Linked DNA regions of Homo sapiens: all the other regions are linked to region 6. The links are contacts of gene promoters, found by promoter capture Hi-C in blood cells and fetal thymus (Javierre and others, 2016). All regions are on one chromosome and are shown on one strand. Each heading gives the region's core, a stretch centred on a gene start or on the middle of the fragment in contact. The rest is flanking DNA. Distances are from core to core; before and after follow the strand shown.

Region 1 (2,700 bases), core at 1-2,500, 390 kb before region 6:
GAGAGCGTCTTTTCTTTTGGGGGGTAGAGTTTGTCCCAGTCAGCACATGGGGGAATCTCAGAAGCTTACTGGTTGGACTCCAAGATACTTGCCAGTGTTTCACCCTTCTCTTTGGTTTGTTACTAAAATGATTGTTATGGCTAAACCTAGTATTTAACATTTGCGCAGTTCTTTGTGGCCAAAGCACTTTCACAACTTAGAATATCCCTATAAGGCTGGAGGCCAGATTTTACCCTTGTGATTTTTGCCTGTGGGAAAACTGCAGCTCACAGCTGCCCTGCATCCTTCAGCGGTTACTATTTAGCGCTGGCAGGGGTGGGAATCGGGAGGCCTGGCTTCTAGTTCTTTGAGGGTGGCCTTGCACCCTTGCGGAGCCTGCAGCCTTTGCAGTCTGATCAGGGACTTCTCAGTTTCCTGGCTCAGGGACTGCGAGGCATCAGGATAGGGGGTGCTGTTGAACAGCATCTTACCAAGCAGGCAGTTTCCTTTTCTAAATATACTTATTCACCAGGGTGGCTACTCCATTTTATTGCAAGGTATTTGGCTTAAACTAGTCTAAGCCCCCTTTACTAATATTTTGGAAAGGAAGGAGGTCTTTCTGGACAGAGCTGATGGAAAAATACATAACAACAACAACGACAATAACAAACTGGGTTGATGACACACTCAGACTCAGGGTCCAGCCAGGCATTGTTCAAGGCACTCAGTGGCCACGGGTTGGACTGTTTGGTGGCTGCGGGGCCCACAGTGTAGGCCCCTGTTTCCACCCATTTCTTTCCCTCGTCTTGGGAGTCTCCAGAGCGACTGCTCCTGAACAGGGTTACCAAGTCCTGGCCCTGGATGCCCTGACATGTGTAGGAGTGTTGGCGGTGACCGCAAGAGTGGATTTTGCACAGAAAGATTAGCAACTCCTTTCACAATTTATGTCCAAACATACTGGTCCATCTGTATCGGGAGGACTCTGTCCCCTGCTAGGTCTGGCACATAACAGACACCTGCCAAACATCTGCTCAGTGAATGGCACTGGCACCCTAGAGGGAGGGTCACCAGCCTGGTCATAGGGAGGAGTGGGTCCTGGGAGGGGAGGCAGTCTCATACCAGCCCCTGCTCAGAACGTTTCTTCTGGGAGCACGTGGTATGAGCCAGAATGAGAGTTAGGGAGGGGAGGTGGTGACTGAGCAGGGGAGACAGGACCCCCACCCCCAGTAGTTCCTACTTTTGGCAATTTTGCTGCAGCTTTTGTGATAGAGCCCCAAGTTAGACCCTTGGGTGGGGCACCGTAGCCAGCTATGCAAGATTCTCTCCTGCCCTCCTGCTTGGAAAAGACTAAGGCCAGGACAGAGCTCATCTTTGATCAGCAGGAGGGAAGCACAGTAGCCCTCTGAGTTCTTGATCTTTGCAGTTGGGGTGGGGTGGGGGCTGGCACAAAGTCAGAAAGAAAACTGTGTAGAGCACGGTTTTCTGTCAACATGGCTCCTGTTTTCTGGAGCTAAGCTCTCCAGTCTGTATCCAGGAGCCAGTGCCCTGCTTCCTACAAAAGCTCACCCTACCTCTGGTCCAAAGGCACCCTGGCTGATTTTAGGAGGGAGTGGCACCTATTGCAACAGGTGCTACAATTTGCTGGAAGGCATCTGGGTATTATCACTGTTTGATTCTAGAGACTCACCTAGTCTTGCATGACAGCGTATACAGACTCAGAGGAGTTTTAGAAGGCCCTTCTTTTTTTTTTTTTTTTTTTTGAGACGGAGTCTCGCTCTGTCGCCCAGGCTGGAGTGCAGTGGCGGGATCTCGGCTCACTGCAAGCTCCGCCTCCCGGGTTCACGCCATTCTCCTGCCTCAGCCTCCCAAGTAGCTGGGACTACAGGCGCCCGCCACTACGCCCGGCTAATTTTTTGTATTTTTAGTAGAGACGGGGTTTCACCGTTTTAGCCGGGATGGTCTCGATCTCCTGACCTCGTGATCCACCCGCCTCGGCCTCCCAAAGTGCTGGGATTACAGGCGTGAGCCACCGCGCCCGGCCAGAAGGCCCTTCTTGAGAAGGCTCTTTTCTTCTCTAATCTAAATGGCCCTACAGCAACTTTCTAGCCGCCCTCATGGACTTGAAATCTTTCTTTTCTCTTTGCAGGAGTGCAGTGGTGCGATCACAGCTCACTGCAGCCTCAAACTCCTAGGCTCACATGATCCTTCAGCCTCAGCCTCCTGAGCAGCTGGGACTACAGGCATGTGCCACCAAGCCTGGTTATTTTTTGTAGAGGTGGGGGTCTTGCTATGTTGCCCAGGTTGGACTCCAACTCCTGGGTTTACCTAATTCTCCTGCCTCAGCCTCCTGAGCAGCTGGGATTACAGGCGCACGCCACCATGCCCAGCTTGGAAGGCTTTCTAAATTCCCTCCTCTCATTCTTCCTTCTGTGAACTCAGATGGTCTTTCCAGCTTCAGTAAGCTTTCTTCATAGAAGACCTTCAACCACCTGTCTCTTAGCCATGCCTGGAAACTTGCTGGAAACTCTACCCTGCCCTTTGGAGTTCAGGTGTGGGATAAAGGAGAAAACTATAGGAAAATTCCACCCCCGCTCCGCTTTTTTTTTTTTTTTGAGATGTAGTATCCCGCTGTCACCCAGGCTAGAGTGCAGTGGTGCAATCTTGGCTTGCTGCAGTAACCTCTGCCTCCTGGGTTCAAGCCATTCTCCTGTCTCAGCCTCC
Region 2 (2,700 bases), core at 56-2,555, 320 kb before region 6:
TTAGTTATTACAGTTTACTGTTTTTCATTTTATTATTGACTGCCACCCTTTGCTCTGCTTATGTTAATTCCCAAAGACACATAATGCTTCAGGAATACTGCGTCAAGTTTCTTTTAAAAACATGCATAGAAAAGAATGGTAGACACTGTATATCAATGGGAAAAGGATAAATTTCTCAAAAAGTGGCACAGGAACAACTCGTTATTCATATGGAAAAAAATTACAGAGGCTGCCATCCTCACACTCTATCCCCAAATTAATTCCAGGTGGATTATAGCCCTAATGTGAAAGGTAAAACTATCACGTTTTTATTTAAAAAAAAAAAAAAAAAGCAGGTATCTTTACGGCCTCAGGGGATGGAAGAATTTCTCAAACAAGAAACAAAAAGTGCTAATCATAAAGGGAAAAGTGGTAAACTTCGTTACATTAGAATTATGCCAAAATTTATACACACGTTAAACAGAAAGTGAGAAACCACAAAGTGAGGGAGGATATTTGTAACTTATAAAATAAAGGACTCGGCTGGACGTGGTGGCTTACTCCTGTAATCCCAGCATTCTGGGAGGCCAAGACAGGAGGATTGCTTGAGCTCAGTAGTTTAAGACCAGCCTGGGCAAATACAGGGAGACCTCGTCTTCACAAAAACTAAATATAAATTAGCCAGGCATGGTGGTGTATGCCTGTGGTCCCAGCTACTCGAGAGGCTGAGGCAAGAGGATTGCCTGAGCCTAGGAAGCCGAGACTGCTGTGGGCTGTGATCACGCCACTGCACTGCAGCCTGGGTGATGGAGTGAGACCCTATCTCAACAACCAACCAACCAATCAATCATCAAAAAACAAAAAACAAACAAACAAAAAAAACAAAGGACTTGTATCCAGACTATCAAAAAGAAACAAACTCCTATAAATCAATAAGACCAATAGAGAATCCAGTAGAAAAATGAGCAAAAGACTATTGACAATTGACAAAAAAAGGCCAAGAGACACAAAAAGAAGCTCAATCTCATTATTAAAGAGAAACAGTAAAAATTAAAACCACAACAAGATAATCATTACACAGTTGCCAGATGGGCAAAAATTTAAGAGTAGATAATAACAAGCACTGGAGAGGACATGGAGCAAGTGGAACTCTCACACCTACTGGAAACAGTTCAGCATTACCAAATAAAACCTAAAAACACACACCATATGACCCAGCAATTTCACTTCTCAGTTTACACTCTTAAATGTTTAAGAATACACACTAATGTTTAAGAGTATACCAGGATAAATGTTTAGGAATGTTCGTTGCAGCTGTTAGTAAGTGCCCCAAACTGAAAGCAATAGGGGCTTCTGCTTTTAAAATAGCTATTAATAGGTACAATGGAAAAATAACTTGTGGTATATTCATATCATGGAATACTATATAGAAATAAAAATGAATAAATCGCAGCTATACAAACAACATGGATAAATCTCACAGACTGTTGGATGAAACAGACAAAAAATAATATAATCAATATGATTCTATTCATGTATCATTCAAAACAAGCAAAACTATATTGTTTAAGGATGGACCCACTACACATTATATTCAGTATAAATGGCATCCCTTGGAGCAAAACTCCTAAGTAATGCATTACATCAGTGGCAAAACTACTAAAAGAAAAAAAAAAACACCTATAAAGTAGAGCACATAAGTGATTAACACAAAAGTACAAAAAAAATTTTTTTTCTCTTGGGGGAAGGATATGGTTGTGATGAGGTGTACAGCCTGGCTGATGAAATTTTCTAGTTTTTTGACCTGAGTGCCAATTACTACACAGGTATTTGCTTCTAGTGATTCACTAAAGTATACACAGATGCTTAAAGAAAATTTATGTATAAACATAATATTTCATAATAAATGAAAGACAAAAGAGACAAGAATAGCTCCTTTTCCTCCTCCACTGCTATTTCTCGCCACTTGGAACCACTGCTCTGGGATCTAAGCTCCACAATCATTAGGGCTTTTGAGGGCAGAGGTTTTTCTCACCACTGATTTCCTAGGGCCTAGCACAGTGCTGACAGGAAGAGAAAGCACTCAATAAATATCTTAAAACAACTCACTGACTAACTAAGAACAGAGAGGGTGGGAGAAAGGGAAGAAAAGAGCGATACAGTTTGAAATAGGAAATGAATGTATCAGAACTCAGAGTGTAGGAACTGGGAACTACTTGGTAAGACAGAGATCTCAACTAAAGTTTTTGTTGAAAATAGCAATTTTCATATATGAAGAAAAACTGTAATCTAGGAAGAATATATACAATGATGAAGTTTCCAGTTATCATTAAATATAATTTTAAAGGAAGAGTAAATATTTTAGTGATAGGTATAATCATTAATGCTAAAATGGCAATTAGGTGTGAGTGATATGCTTATTAGTCACATGATTGAAAATATTAGTATTACTCCCACACTAATAACTATTTCTCAGTAACCCATATTAGTAAGAGACAAAGCTAGTATACACTACATATAATTTAAAAATTCATTTTTGTCTATAATATCACTTGCTTCCTTAGTTCTAACAAGAGCTGTTAACGAAGAACACTAAAAAAAATTAGGTTTTCCTTCTTTTCCTTCAATATGTAAACTATCAAATGAAAAAACATAGCCAGAAAAGAAGAAAAAAAAACCTAGATAATATTTTTAAAAACCTGTATAACTGAAAGTTGACAT
Region 3 (2,924 bases), core at 345-2,844, 370 kb before region 6:
CTCTCTCTCATGCAAACATTATGTAGAAACAAACACATATATACATGTTTTCATCTCCACAGATACACCGTAAGATACTCCATTGTTCCTCCAACACCTTCTTCACAGATGAGGAAAATCAGAATCAGAGGGATTAAATGACAAAGTTATCGTATTTATGATAGCTGCAAGAGCAGAATTAAGGTGCTCTGACTCTTGTTCCCACACTATTTACACTAAATTATGTTGGGCTGACTTTTTTTCTATTGCACAAGTTTAAAGTTAGCTGTTTGGATGGCAGTCAGGAATTTCTGGATTCCAAGAAACTGTGGTATGAATAAGGGAAATGGATCATCTATCTTATTGACTAAGTGTTAATTTTGTATCATGGTCCTTTGATTTTGAAAATGGACCCCTTGCCCACCAATACCCACTTCCTACATGCTTCTCCCCAAGAAGGTCGTGAAGCTCAGAAATTCTTTTTTTCTTAGGAACACAGAATACTAGCTGAAAAAAGATAACATTACTGAGTCAGTTGATTAGGGCAGACTGGCCCAGGACTTCCACTGTGAGGAGACACTTACCTCTGCTGGGCACCTTATTTTTACTGAATGCAGCAGTTGGCTGATGACCATAGGGATGTATCCCCAATTCTTGGGCATGACTCACAGTTCCTAGCAAAGATTCAGGGTCCCCAGGTCCACCGGTACTCAAGAGCAGAGGGCTGTCATGGCAACCTTTGGTCAATGTACTTGAACTCTTACTGTCTTGGAAGCCATCCTTGGCCCCCTCACACGAGCAGTCCTCCTCCATGCTCTCTGAATGCATCAGTGCCGGCTGGTGAGCATACCCGTGGGGCGGGGTGGGTGAGGAAGCCTGTGAGACACATTCTTGTGCCCTGATTTGTAGCAGATGCTGGGGGCTGGTGTGATGGTGATAAGAGTCAGCATTTTGATAAGATAAAGCCTGGCGCTCTGTCATGCTCTGTCCCCCAAGGCTGGGAGCCAGACTCCCCGCATCCCCTTGGTTCATGTGCCTGAACAGTTCCTGGTATTCTTGCTGTTGCTGCTGTTGCTGCTGCTGCTGCCGTTGTTGCTGCTGCCTTTTAATGAGCTGTGCAAACTCTGTTGGGGGCAGCCGGATGTCCGAGTGGCCGGTGAGCGAATGCCGGGGAGAAAGCAGTCCTTGAAGGATGTGGGGTACCTGCTGGTGTCTTGTATAGTCTGGCGGCGTGGGAGACAGCAGGGCCTGCTGTAGTGCCGACGTGGTATAGTGTGGCGGCTGCTGATGTGCACTGGGAGGGAAGGTGGGGAATTGGTCAAGTGGAGGGACTTTCAGGGCTTGGGTTGGAGAGAACCCCACTCCTGTTGAAGGGCTGTAGCTGCTGGGGGAACCCCGGGACTGGTCCGAAAACAGATGGGGGTGTAAATGCGCCTGGTCGTAGTTAGCAGGGGAGAACCGATTCACGTTCAAGCTGCAGACACAAAAGGGAGTACCAGACATCCATGTAACAAGTACTAGACTTCCTGGGAACAGCTCCTCCTCCTCAGTAGGGAGAACCCACTGGTACAGAGAACTGTGGTGTGACAGAGAAGTGGCAGATGTATGCATTGTCCCTATTTATTCCATTACTGGCTTGTCCAGTAACCTCCAAGGGACTGAGGGCACTGCGTGGGTAATAGATCTAGCTCATTTTGAAGGAAGCAACTTCAAGATGCTCCCTTCAAGAAAAGGGGAACTGGAATTTTTATACATTCCTCTAACAGGCCATTTTCTTCTTTGCAAGCAAATAATAAGGTAGCAAATAATAAGGTAGCTTTCCCATTTTCCACCTCAGTCTCATTAGAATTTTAACCCTGGGTCAATAAAAAGCTGACAAGTTCATTCCAAACCCAGCATCCTGATTTTAGAAAGCGTGAAACAAGAGCACAGCCTAGTCAGACCCATTCTCCTTCCCTCCTTTTCTCTCACTCTGCTAAGGGGCTTCCTCCCACCTGGATCCCATGCATAGATGGCTGGGTGACGTTAGGCGGTCTTACCTGTGAGCCTCTGCACTGTCAGCACTCAGCTGCTTGGACAAGGGACGGTGCCCATAGCTGAGGGTGGCCATCAGGTTGGTACGGTGCTGCATCTGCATCTGACCAGCACTGGGGCTGATGGAGATGCCGCGCCCACTGGAGCCTGCAGCTGTGCCTGGCATGTTGCTGAGCATGTCAACAGGCTCTTGGACTTGGATGGTGACCTGCTGTGACTGAGCAGGCTGCTGCATACCCAAGCAGGTTAGTGCCACGTTGGGAGGAGAGGAACAGTTCTCAGGTTGCTGCTGAAAGATTGCACTGCGGGAAGGTAAGCCTTGAAACTGGGAAGAAGATGCAGCCCCTGGAGAGAAAGGAACCTCAGAGTGACCAAGTGCCCAGGCCACCAGCCAGCCAGAAGTAATGAGAGCTAATGAGAATACTCAGACGACATACCAGCTAGAACAGTGCTTCTCAAACTGCACTGAGCATAGGACAAGTCTGGAGAACTTGTTAAACAGAAGATTCCTGGGTCCTATCTATATAATTCTGTTTCAAACTCTGATTCAGTAGGTCAGGATGGGCCCCTAAGAATTTGTGTTTCCAACAAGTTCCCTTAAAAGCTGGTCCATGGATTACATGGGGTAACTCGGATCTAGGCAGTGCTTCTTGAACTTTCACATGCACACAAATGGCCTGGCATCTGGTTAAAAATGCAGACTCTAGGCCGGGCGTGGTGGCTCACACCTGTAATCCCAGCACTTGGGAGGCCGAGGTGGGCGGATCATGAGGTCAGGAGTTCGAGACCAGCCTGGCCACCATGGCGAAACCCTGTCTCTACTAAAAATACAAAAATTAGCTGGGTGTGGTGGCGGGCGCCTGTAATCCCAGCTACTTGGGAGGCTGAGGCAGGAGAATCATTTGAACCCG
Region 4 (2,878 bases), core at 327-2,826, 510 kb before region 6:
TCTATTTATCTCTAAATCTCCATTTCTCCTCCCCTTCCCACCCCAACACCCACTCTTTCACTCTAAAATCCCCTGTCCTCTAAGAAAAAGGGCAGGGGAACAGGGATCTCCTTGCCACGCCTTCTAGGAGTTAATCCCACAAGGAAGGAGCCTCCTTGGGAACCAGGCCATAGGGAGTGGCCCCCCAGTTGCCTGGGCTAAGATCCCATGGGCAAGGGAGGTCACCTCTTAGAAGAAATCCTATCAACCCTTCATGACCTGGCTCCCGCTTCTCTTTCCAGCTGCCTCCTCATTCTCCCTGTGTTTCATCCCTATCAAGGCACTGCCCATTCCCCAGCAGCCACAGCCTCTCATGCTTCCTGCCATCCCTCCTGCCTTCAGGCCTTCCTACACTCCATCTTAGCAGCCTAGGGAGCTCCTCCTGTTTCATCAGTGCCCAGTTTAAATACCCCTCCTCTGGAAAACCTGCCCTGACTGCCCACACCCTACAAGATTAGGTATTTTTTTTCCCCTACGCTCTGCACAGTTTGTGTTGTAATTATTTGTTTACTTCACTGAGACAATGAGCTCCTTGAAGGCAGGAACCATTATCTTTCTTCAGCTTTGTATCACTAAGACCTGGGCTAGACTTTAAAAGTCTGTCTAACGAATACATATTTGAACTAAAAAGATCACAGATACCTCGTCTAGATGCCTGACTCTTGACAAATGTCTAAACTGTTCAGAATGAGACATTTATTCCCTTCCTGACTGTATCTCCAATCCCTGCGATTGAGAAGCAGTGGGGATGGGAGACGTGACCCTCAGCAGGGTGAGTTTCTAGGATCGTGAGCCCAAAGGCCCCGGGTAGTTCCTAACAGGGAGGTGCCTCGGGCTGAGCAGCTGCTGCTGCTCCATGGCAAAGGCTTGCGGTGCTGGAGAGAGCCACAGGCTCTCTTCCCCAGGTCGGGGGCCCAGGTGACCCATCCAGTTGTTGTGCAGGAATATGGAGGGGCTGAAGGGATCCCAGTACCTCTGGACTTCCACAGCAGCCGGGCCCCTTAGAGCATGCCACACAGCCAGCCACAGCCCTGCCTGCCCACCACAAGGGCCTCCCACCCAGCATCCTCTCCTCTCCTGCCCACCCTCTCCTGCTCCCCCAAACCTGCTGACCCCTGGTGGCTTTAGCCTTCCTTGAGAGAGCCAGAAGGGAGAGCATCCATTTTAAATTAACAAGGTTATTAGCAGTTAATTACCTGAGGTATCATTGTAATTGAAAAGAAAAAGAGAGAAGAGAAGCTCATAAACCCAACCCTTTCTTTTCACCATCCCTGGGGTGGTGCGGGTGACCCCGGCCCCCTCCCCACAATAGGGCCCTGCACACACCATTGTCCTTTCTTTCTCCATGTTCCTCCACCTGCCCCCACTTCACAGGGATATTGAGGAGAGGGAACCAGACCCAAGGAGAGCAAGCCACCCGCCCCGCAGGCACTTCAGGGATGCTGAGACACACTTGGAGTCCATAAATGCAGAGAGATTTATCTCATATTGGGGTGTGCAGGGAGGAGGCACAAATCTGAAGCCTTTAGTCAATATTTTTAGTGATTTTTTTTTCCCCTAGATTGTCCTGTTATTCTACAAGTTAGTATGGCTGGCATCTGTCAGCATTAATGATGTTTAGTCCCAAATTCACTGCAACCAGAGATCACAGACCATCTCCCCTCCCTCCTCCCCACTGCCACCCACCCCTGCCCTGAGGACACTGGGCTGCAGGGAGGGGAAGGGGTGCAGAGAGAACACAGAAGACCCCTCCCTCAGGCTGGCCATGTGAACTCCAGCACTTGCTGAAGAGCTCCTGAGGCAAGGATGCCACATGCCAACAGTTCTTGGGTTCGTGTCCTGTCACTGAGACTTCACAGAAGGAGCCCCAGACTCACGGAGTCCGTGAAGTAACCCACCTATAACCCTCACAGCAGCCTCCCATTCTCCCCAAACTCTTCCCTGCCTAGGGTACACCAGAAGGAGGAGCATAACCCAAGAGAGCCAAGAATCCCCCCAAAAAAAATCTCCCCCAAAGGCAAGCAGTAGGTGCAGGTGGCCCACACCCCCTGGCCAGTGGCCTTAGCAGCACTGCTGGGTGTCTGGTGTGGAGGGCAGTGTGGGGGCTGGACGGGTGAGCCCGAGTAGGAAGGCAGCACCCCCAGCTCCTTCATGCCTCTGAGATGCCCTGACTCCTGCCATACCCAGCCACCCTCCCTGTCCTCCTTCCCCCTGCCCCCTTTTCCTTTCCTCTGTAAGGCCCTGGCTCCCTCGCTTAGGCCAAGTCCTCTCTCCTCTGCTACCTACTTTCCTGGGCAGCACTCAGCCCCTCAGTAGTCAGCATTGTCAGGAGCAGACCCCTCACCTCCCTCTCAACCTTCTGGAAGCAACAAGGACAGACAGCAAAGCTGGGGAAGGGCAGAGCGCACAGAAAGCCCACACATAATCGCATATGTGCGCCAGTGTGATTGTATGAAGCATCATGTACATAACAGAAAATGGCATTCTCATGTTAGCCTTTTCAATTGAGCATTTACCATGTGACAGGTAAGTAACATTATTAGCCACATTTTATAAATGGAGAAATCAGGGTTCAGAGACCCTAAGTGATATGTCCAAGAATGAGATAGAGAAGGACATGAACCTAGGCAGTCTGTCTCCAAACTGCCTAACCCCTCCATTAATATGCCTTCCAACAATGTCTGCCGTGGTGGGGGTGGGGGTGAGGGTGGGGAGGAGATGGTCAGGAGTCAAGGTGCGTTTCAACTTTCCCCTCCCCACTCCGTGTGGGAGGCTGCTGCTCGACACAGCACCAGAGAGAGCCCTTCCTCTTCTCCCTGACAGGCTGAGGAACAAGGGG
Region 5 (2,700 bases), core at 16-2,515, 480 kb before region 6:
TTTCAGTAAGTTTCATTCATTTGTTCTCCAAAATGAATACACCAGCTGAAATATTCCATGTAGCCGGGCACAGTGGTTCATGCCTGTAACCCCAGCACTTTGGGAGGACAAGGCGGGCGGATCACCTGAGGTCAGGAGTACGAGATCAGCCTGGCCAACATGGTGAAACCCCATCTCTACTAAAAAAACAAAAATTGTGTAGCGCATGCCTACAGTCCTGGCTACTCAGGAGGCTGAGGTGGGAGGATTGCTTGAACCTGGGAGGCAGAGGCACCACTGCACTCCAGCCTGGATGACAGAGTAAGACTCTGTCTTTTTAAAAAAAAAAAAAAAAAGAAAGAAAGGAAAAGAGAAAAGAAAAGAAGAGAAAATATTCCATGAGTTCTGATTCCCCATCAGATCAGTCTCTTGCTTATTTTTGCCAAACTAAGATGTAAGGTAGAAACTCAGTGTTTTAATTAGCGTATCTGTAATTACTAGTGAGGTAATATACTTATGAGCCACTCTGGTTTTCTCTTTAGATTTTACCTATTCATATTTTTGCATATTTTTATTTCATCTGTCTTTTTCTTCATGATTTGCAGAAGCTCTTTCTATATTCTATCCCTTGTATATGCAATCCTTGTCAGTTTTAGACACTGCAAATATTTTCTCCTAATCCGTATCCATCTTTAGCTTTGACTATGGGATGCTTTGCTAAATAGAAACCTTTAATTACAAAGTAATCAAAGCTATCAAATCTTATGCATTGTGCTTTGGGATCTTATTTAAGAAATTTATCTTTACCCCAAGGCACAAAAACATTTGCCATTTGTTCCTACTAGCTGTATATCACGTTATCTTTCATTTAGGTCTTTAATCACTTTGGGATTTTTGTTTTATATGGTATGAGGGTTCAACTTTATTTTTGTCCATATAATAAGCCAATTTTCTGAGCACTATTATCCATCTCTTCCCTACTAACTTGTGACACTATCTTTATCATACACCATGTCTCCAAATATCTGTGTGTCTATTCCTGAGTCTAGTTTAGTACTAATTCCTGTTTTCTCAGAGGAAGGATCTATCACTAAGAAAGTTTTTACTCACACTGCTTTCTAGATTAGTGAAAAATTCAACCACCACCCCCCAAATCCCCACAGGTTCAATATTAGCCTGTATTCTTCCCAAAACAGAATACCCAGTTAAGAAGATAATTTTAAAAAAATAAATACATGTTTATTTAAAAAAGAAAAAGAAAAACCCTACCAAGAACAAACCCTGGTCAATGAGAAATCAATGCTTCCTCTGAAAGCCAGCAACAGCCGGTGCTGTCACACCCAAGAAGTACAGGTACCTCAGTCCAAACATCAGGTCTCGAATATTCTTCTGTGGTCAAAACTGGCATTCAACAAGTTGCTGGTCTGTGTGGGCTCCAATTATTAGCACAGACAACTGTTACCACTGGATATCTCGCTGCCTATGCCCACTACCACAGCCCAGCCACCCCCACAGCCTCAGGAAAGTTACATATCCTCAACACTCCATTTGTAGGCAAGTTCCTCCACTGCCTTCTTGCTGGCAAGCCTGGCAAAGCGCTTCTGTTCAAATCCATTGGATCTGCAATCAAAAGAGACATACTATTCAGCTAGAACCCTGAAAGGGGCATTTGTTTCAAAAGAAAGGGAAGAGTTCACAATATAATGAAAAGGGGGGAAAGTAAGGAGTCATATGAAAATATTTTAGGCATGGCCGGGCACGGCGGCTCACGCCTGTAATCCCAGCACTTTGGGAGGCCAAGGCGGGTAGATCACGAGGTCAGGCATTCAAGACCAGCCTGCCTAATATGGTGAAACCCTGTCTCTACTAACAATACAAAAATTAGCCAGGTGCAGTGGCAGGTGCCTGTAATCCAGCTATTCGGGAGGCTGACGCAGGAGAATCGCTTGAACCTGGACAGCAGAGGTTGCAGTGAGCGGAGATCGTGCCACTGCACTCCAGCCTGGGTGACAGAGACTCTGTCTCAAAAAAAAAAAAAAAAAAAAAGAAAGAAAGAAACAAAAAAGAAAAGAAAATATTTAAGGCATATGCAATAGAATCAAAGGGACAAAATATATCATTCATCCTTTTCTTAGTCCTTGTTCACACCCTTCCCCCACTCTGACAGCTATTTCAAACGTTTGCCACTCTAAAAGCCTGGTTCTCTCTCAGCTGATGTCCACATCTTATATTTTATCCATTCATTACACAAACATTTATTGAATTTTCATTATATACTAGGTACCATGGTAGACACTACATGAAAATGAGTATGACACAGCACCTGTCCTGATGAACTCCCAGACTAGTGGAAGAGAGAGACATTTAAACAAATAAATTAAAAGAACAGCATAAACTCTGGTAGAAATACGCATGGGGTGTCATGGAAACAGAATGGGTATCTTAATCAGCTTGGGGGAGGTATGATAAAAAGGTGACATGAGGGTTGGGCAAGAATGATCAGTAAAGGCTCTGTGTTAACTACAGCACTGGGGATGGAAGGGCCAGAAAGGGTCTGGAGGTCATTTCAGAACAGAATGAGCAACAAGAACAAAGGCACGGAAATAAGAAGTGGCCTGGTATGTGCAGCAAACCAAAGGCAAACTGGTATGGCTGGAACCTGAAGTATGACAAAGGGAACAGCCATGAGTCAAAGTTGGAAAGGCGCAGAGGCCAATGCAT
Region 6 (2,927 bases), core at 423-2,922:
TGTTGTGCAAATGGAGAAAAGGCATCACTTTCACTGTGAGTAGTGTTGACTCAGCAAAGGCTACAGACCTGTGGGATCCAAGAACAGAAGAAATAATGTCCCACCAATCCCAGGGCAACAAGCTGAGGTTAGATAAACTCCAGGACCAGGGACCAAAGAAACTTCATTAATTGTCATTTCCAAAGATCTAAAATCGGTCATAGACTGGAGCAGAACTGGTACGGTGAGGCCAAATCAGTATAACACCCAAAAAACCCACTTCCTGTGCTATCGTGCCACCCTCTTTTCATTTTGTTCCCCAGAGGCCTAGCAAAAAACAGTTACCAAAATGCCTCTTGAAAGAGTAGGTAATAACGTCCTAGAAGTCCAGGTGGTAGCTAACTTCTTGATTTGTATATCCCAGAAGGATACCAGGGAAAGTGAAAGGAGGGAGGCGGCGGGGGCGAAACGGGGAAAGCCAGAGAGTGCAAACAAAACAGAACAGGCACCAAGGACAAGCGGGCAACCAGGAGAGAACGAATGATGAGAGAACCTCACTAAGCAGCTACTCCTGTACTGAGCTCAGGAGGCTGGCTTCAAGGTGAGGACTCAGACTCCAGACTGGGACTCCAATTGCCTGGGTTTGACAGAACCAGGGAATTGGTCTCAGGAGCCCTCAAAAAAAAAAAAAAAGAGCCAAGTTAGAACTGGGGGACAGACAAATGGGGTGGCAGGACATGTGTGTACCTATGGTGGCTGGGCTCCTTTAAAAGCCTTTGCTCTCCACTGGGTCCACCCTGGGGCAGGGCTTAGTACTCAGATACACACCCAAGCGGCTCTACCTCAAAGCATTCCAGAAAAATGGGAATTTTACTGAAAGGCTTCCTGGAAAGGAGAACTTATGCCACCTCTCCTTTACCTCTAAAAATCTTCATACTACATTTCTTCCTCTCGTTTTCTCTTAGGTTTCCAGGCATATTCCCTCTCAATCCCTCCCTGCCCCCGGGAGCCTCAATTCTCCCAAGATATTTAGGTGTCTTCCCCAGTCTGCATACTCTACTAAGTAAACAAACTAACAAACAAAACCCTTGTTAGCCAGACAGTGGCCCCGCTAGGCAGACTCCTTCAGACTCAGTAGATCCCACCACAGATGTCAGGAAGAAAGAGAAGCAGGAGCTCCTTCTGTCTACTAGTGGCAAAGCAGCATTTTTATCCCCCAGGCTTCTGGGAAAGGAACCTTAAATGCCTTCTGAAAGCAGGTCTCAACCTCTCCCAACGGCTAGGCCTCCCTTTACAGCTCTTAATTGACAAGGAAGAAGAGAATGGGCAGCCTGGAGTCCAAGATCCTGCTCCCAAGCTACTGTCCTCGCTGTTCCACACCCGGCTCCTAGAAGCCAGCTTGGGTACCGGGTCAGTTTCCCGATTCTCCCTCCGTCGGCCTCGATCGCTCCGTGCAATGTGCCCCTCTCCTCATTAGCACCCACATTATCCAGGAATTCTGGGCCCTGGGGCCCCATCTCCTTGGTCCCCCACGCCAGGACCTCAGGCACCCTCTGTGCAGCTCCCTCATCCTCAGACGCCGGCTTCCCCCACTTCTGGGGCCCCCTGACCACCCAGGTCCAGCCCCACACCTAGTTCCCAACTCACCGGCCCCGCCGCAGCTGCCGCCGCCTCCCTGCGGAAACTCGCGGCTTCCCGGGAGCCGGAGGAGCAGTGACAGCAGCATCACTTCCGCCCGCGGCGCAGCCAATCAGCGCGGCGCCTGCGGCCCGGCGACCCCCGCGGGCCACAGCAACCGGCGCCCGGGGTCCGGCTCCCGCGGGCGGCCTACGCAGGCAGGGGCCGTGCGGGCGCTGGGGGCTGAACCCGCGGGCTCCGCCTCCCCGAGTCCTCGGGGCATCTTCCACATGGTCCCTCTTCAGAAGGCTCTCCTTCATGGCGTCCTCTGTAAAGGGCATTTCGGTTCCGACCTTTAAAAGCCACTCGTTGCTCTTCTCCTTCTGACCGCCATGGCCCCGACTGTCCCTGTAATCTTCCCAGAGGGGATCCTGCCCACCCAGGTCGCCTTCCTTCTCGCAGTCGGCTCTCCCTTCTTCCCCGCGCCCCGGGAGAGTCCACTTGTATCTCAGGGGTCTCCCGCAGCATCCCCGTGCCCCGGCGGCGCCAGCTGTCGCCGCCAGAGGGCGCCGTCGGGGGCGGCGCGGCGCCACCGCGGCCTCTCCTCTCGCGGCCGGAGCCTCGCCCCCTCCGCTCGTGCCGCCGGAAGTGGGAGGTGCCGCGCGCGGGCCGGCGCTCGACCCCTCCCCCCGTGGCTCGGCCGCCCCCTCCCCCCGCTCCGCCCGCTCAGGTGCGTCCCGTCCCTCCCCCACTTTCCTCCCGGGGGCGCGGCGCGGGAGGTGTGTGCGGGGCGAGCGTGGGTGGGGGTTGCGGGGCGAGGGCCGGGCATGGGGGTCGGGTGGGGGGCGTGGAGGGTGCTGTGAGAACCGAGGCGGGGGTCCCGGCCTAGAAGTGGGACGGGGGGGTGGCTGGCAGCGGGGTGGGGGGACCGAGGGGAAGGGGTGGAGGGGGGTCTGGTCCGAGCCAGCGGCCAGCCTAGCAGTCCCCTGTGGGGGGTGGCCAAGGCCACCCAGCGCCGCTTCCCCCCATTGTCCCCTTCCCGTCTGTCCCCTGTTCTCGCCCGAGGACCCGTGGCTCCGGCGCCCCTGCTTCGCTGGTGGTCGCCCCGGGTTGCGGAGTTCTTTTTGGTACACTCGACCCTCCAGCCAGCTGTTCCTACCCGCGCCACGGGCTCTCTAGCCACGGAGTTGCATGCATGGCCCTTGTCCTGGGGTTTCGTTCACCGGGCGCAGAGGACCCCCCAGCCCTGGGCTATGTTGGAGACGGGATGTTTGCACCTGAGGGAGCAGCAATGGCGGTTTGGGCCCATTTTCTCCCAGGAGCTTTGTATA
Region 7 (2,700 bases), core at 115-2,614, 420 kb before region 6:
AGTAAGATCAAAGTGTAGAAGCTATGTTAAGAAAGATTCCAGTTTAATGATTTTTGAAAGAGCAGTAAAAATAAGACCAAGATGTGGAAGCTGTATTGAGAAAGATCCAATTTAATTCTAATAATCTTTAACAGAATTGCCCAAAGATAGAATGAATTGTTTTGAGAGATGGTACAGTTAGCTGTCAGTGGGAGTGTTCAATACTAAGCAAGATTCACTCGCTCAACCATTGAGTGATGACCACATGCAGGCACTGTGCTAGGCTCTCTGTATTTTCAGTAAGCTATTGTTGTACAACAAAGCACCCTAAAACAGTGTCTTAGAACAACAGTAAATGTTTATGATCTCTCACAAAGTCTGTGGGTCAGCAGCTTGGCTGTGTGTTTCTGGTTCAGAGTCTGTCATGAGGTTGCATCTGAAGGCTTGGCTGAGGCTGGAGGATCTGTTTCCAAGGTGAATCACTTTACATGGCTGGCAAGTTGGTGCTAGCTGTTTGGAAGGGGCTTCAGTTCCCCCCTGTGTTGACCTCTTCACAGGGCTGCTTGCACGTCCTCCCAACATGGCAGCTATCTTCCCTCAGAATGAGTGATCCAAGAGAAATCAAGGTAGGTGCCACAATGCCCTTTATGATCTAGACTTAGAAGTGAAATACCATGACATAGCCTATTGATCACACATCAGCCACCATTGTGAGGGCTAGCTACCACATCCTGCAAATACAATGATGAACAAACAAATGGTGTGCCTGAGCTCGAGGGCTGTTAGCCTAGAGTTAAGATCATTCCTTAAATGATATCAAAGGAATTAGGGCTGAGAGACAAGGTTGTTCCCTCCAACCCTAATGCCCTGTGATCTTATGATTCCAGGTCCTAGGTCTTTTGTTCCCATATCACCAATCCATTATCTCAGAACCAGCAGCTCACCAAACCCTCGCTCCTCAGATGTGGGCCATTCGGGGGTTTTTATTGTGCCCCTGCATTGTCAGCTACTTGTCATCACACAGCAAGATAGCATGACTCCACCCTGCACGCTCTCAGACAGGAGACAAGGGAGTGCCCAAATAACCCTAAGCTTGTTGTTTCTGTCCCCAGGACATACCTCAGCCTCCTCCTGGGAGCACAGGGCATACTATGATAACAGCAGGAGGACACGGCGTCCCCATGCAGGAGCTGCTTTTGATCCTGCCAGGACAATCCCTCAAGAGCAGCAAGGCCCTGTATGTACAGGAAGAGAGTGGCCCTCAGATCACTTCCCTTTGCCCTAATCAGGGCCACGTAGTACACCAGAGACCTCAGGGGTAGTGACCCTGGATGTTCTCAGAGGACTTCTGACCTTTGAACTTGGGGATGGGCATAGGAGTGTGGCTAGCATCTCAGCCTGGCCCAAACCAGTGCTGGTCAGCATGCCTTTGAGGCACTAACCCAGGCCCACAGAGGAGTCATCTACTTCCAAGTCACCTGAGGAGCCAGTGGTGACCAGGGAGATAATGGCCTGAAATTGTGCTGGCTCTGAGGGACTGTTGGGTAAGCTAATGTGGGCTGGGCTGGAGTTCAAACACACCTCCCTGGTGCCCACAGGGACCTCCCAGCACACGCTCTCCTATGGGTCTCAATGATTCAGTCTTTCCTGGTGGCATAGACTGTAGCCTGGAGAAGCTCTGGGGAATATTTCTTTTCTTACTTATTTCTGGTTTTAAAAGTACTACTCTCAGGATGACTATTGTTAAAAACAAAATAAAACAAAACCAAAAAATAACAGAAAACAACAAGCGTTGGAGAGGCTGTGAAGAAATTGGAACCCTGGGCGTCACCAGTGGGAATGTGAAATGGTGCCACTACTATAAAAAAACAGTTTGGCGGTTCCTCCAAAATTTAAATATAGAATTACCGTGTGACCCAGCAATTCCACTTCTGGATATTTGCTCAGAAGAATTGAGAGCAAGGACTGGAAAGATATGTGTACACCCCCATTCATAGCGGCAGTTTTCACAATTGCTTAATGGATAGAGTTTTCTGTTTGGGGTGATGAAAAGATTTTCAGAAATAGTGGTGGCGGTGGTTGCACAACATTGTAAATGTAATTAATGCCACTGACTTGAACACCTATAAATAGTTTAAATGGTAAATTTTATGTTATAAAAGTAATACTAAAGTGGTGGCATTTTTTTCTTTTCTTCTTCTTCTTTTTTTTTTTTTTCTTGAGACAGGGTCTTCCTCTGTTGCCCAGGCTGGACTGCAGTGGCATGATCTCAACTCACCCCAGCCTCAACCTCCTGGGCTCAAGCAATCCTCCCACCTCAGTCTCTCGAGTAGCTTGGACCACAGGTGTGCACCACCACACTTGGCTAATTTTTGTATTTTTTGTAGAGACAAGTTTTCGCCATGTTGCCAGGCTGGTCTCGAACTCCTAGGCTCAAGCAATCCACCTGTCTCAGCCTCCCAAAGTGCTGGGATTACAGGTGTGAGCCACCACACCTGGCCTAAAATGGCATATTTTTTTCTTTCTCTTCTTTTTTTTTTTTTTGGAGACAGAGTCTCACTCTGTCACCCAGGCTGGCAGTGGCATGATCTCGGCTCACTGAAATCTCCGTCTCCCGAGTTCAGGCGATTCTCCTGCCTCAGCCTCCCTAGTAGCTGAGATTGCAAGCACGCACCACAAAGCCCAGCCAATTTTTGTATTTTTAATAGAGGAGGGGGTTTC

What was found. The method cuts DNA at HindIII sites, captures the fragments that hold promoters and counts their contacts. A CHiCAGO score of 5 or more calls a contact.
Region 1: a contact is called between a fragment that was not itself captured here and the fragment with the promoter of PCSK7 in region 6, in 14 of 17 cell types (naive CD8 T cells, naive CD4 T cells, naive B cells and 11 more). The highest score is 11.2, in naive CD8 T cells.
Region 2: a fragment that was not itself captured here is called in contact with the fragment with the promoter of PCSK7 in region 6 in 3 of 17 cell types (total CD8 T cells, naive B cells and total B cells); the score reaches 6.5 in total CD8 T cells.
Region 3: a fragment that was not itself captured here is called in contact with the fragment with the promoter of PCSK7 in region 6 in 16 of 17 cell types (total B cells, naive B cells, naive CD4 T cells and 13 more); the score reaches 18.6 in total B cells.
Region 4: a fragment that was not itself captured here is called in contact with the fragment with the promoter of PCSK7 in region 6 in 5 of 17 cell types (neutrophils, naive B cells, fetal thymus and 2 more); the score reaches 7.1 in neutrophils.
Region 5: a fragment that was not itself captured here is called in contact with the fragment with the promoter of PCSK7 in region 6 in 11 of 17 cell types (naive B cells, naive CD8 T cells, naive CD4 T cells and 8 more); the score reaches 10.4 in naive B cells.
Region 7: the fragment with the promoter of LNC-RHL1 here is called in contact with the fragment with the promoter of PCSK7 in region 6 in 14 of 17 cell types (naive CD8 T cells, naive B cells, monocytes and 11 more); the score reaches 9.8 in naive CD8 T cells.

What each region holds. Positions count from the first base shown.
Region 1 is chr11:116,840,043-116,842,742 of GRCh38, forward strand. It overlaps APOA1-AS. Among named protein-coding and RNA genes, the nearest start is that of APOA1, 3.8 kb to the left of the region's middle. The HindIII fragment of the contact is 2,377 bases long and covers 63-2,439 here.
Region 2 is chr11:116,907,674-116,910,373 of GRCh38, forward strand. All of the region lies in intron 4 of SIK3 (SIK family kinase 3), which reads right to left. Among named protein-coding and RNA genes, the nearest start is that of APOA1, 71 kb to the left of the region's middle. The HindIII fragment of the contact is 7,535 bases long and covers 1-2,700 here.
Region 3 is chr11:116,857,247-116,860,170 of GRCh38, forward strand. It overlaps SIK3 (SIK family kinase 3), which reads right to left. Exons shown (of 25, transcript NM_001366686.3): 20 at 2,019-2,358; 21 at 564-1,453. Among named protein-coding and RNA genes, the nearest start is that of APOA1, 21 kb to the left of the region's middle. The HindIII fragment of the contact is 5,146 bases long and covers 1-2,924 here.
Region 4 is chr11:116,722,735-116,725,612 of GRCh38, forward strand. No RefSeq gene overlaps it. Among named protein-coding and RNA genes, the nearest start is that of BUD13, 49 kb to the right of the region's middle. The HindIII fragment of the contact is 6,964 bases long and covers 1-2,878 here.
Region 5 is chr11:116,746,977-116,749,676 of GRCh38, forward strand. BUD13 (BUD13 spliceosome associated protein) reads right to left here. Exons shown (of 10, transcript NM_032725.4): 10 at 1,197-1,599. The coding sequence ends at 1,506. Among named protein-coding and RNA genes, the nearest start is that of BUD13, 25 kb to the right of the region's middle. The HindIII fragment of the contact is 2,921 bases long and covers 1-2,700 here.
Region 6 is chr11:117,230,401-117,233,327 of GRCh38, forward strand. PCSK7 (proprotein convertase subtilisin/kexin type 7) reads right to left here and starts at 1,673. Exons shown (of 17, transcript NM_004716.4): 1 at 1,627-1,673; 2 at 1-68. RNF214 (ring finger protein 214) reads left to right here and starts at 2,271. Exons shown (of 15, transcript NM_207343.4): 1 at 2,271-2,326. RefSeq lists enhancers at 362-601, 1,471-1,520 and silencers at 1,711-1,860, 2,071-2,410. The HindIII fragment of the contact is 17,537 bases long and covers 1-2,927 here.
Region 7 is chr11:116,812,818-116,815,517 of GRCh38, forward strand. It overlaps LNC-RHL1 (lncRNA regulator of hepatic lineages 1), which reads right to left and starts at 1,365. Exons shown (of 2, transcript XR_007062898.1): 1 at 1,099-1,365; 2 at 92-636. The HindIII fragment of the contact is 5,163 bases long and covers 1,070-2,700 here.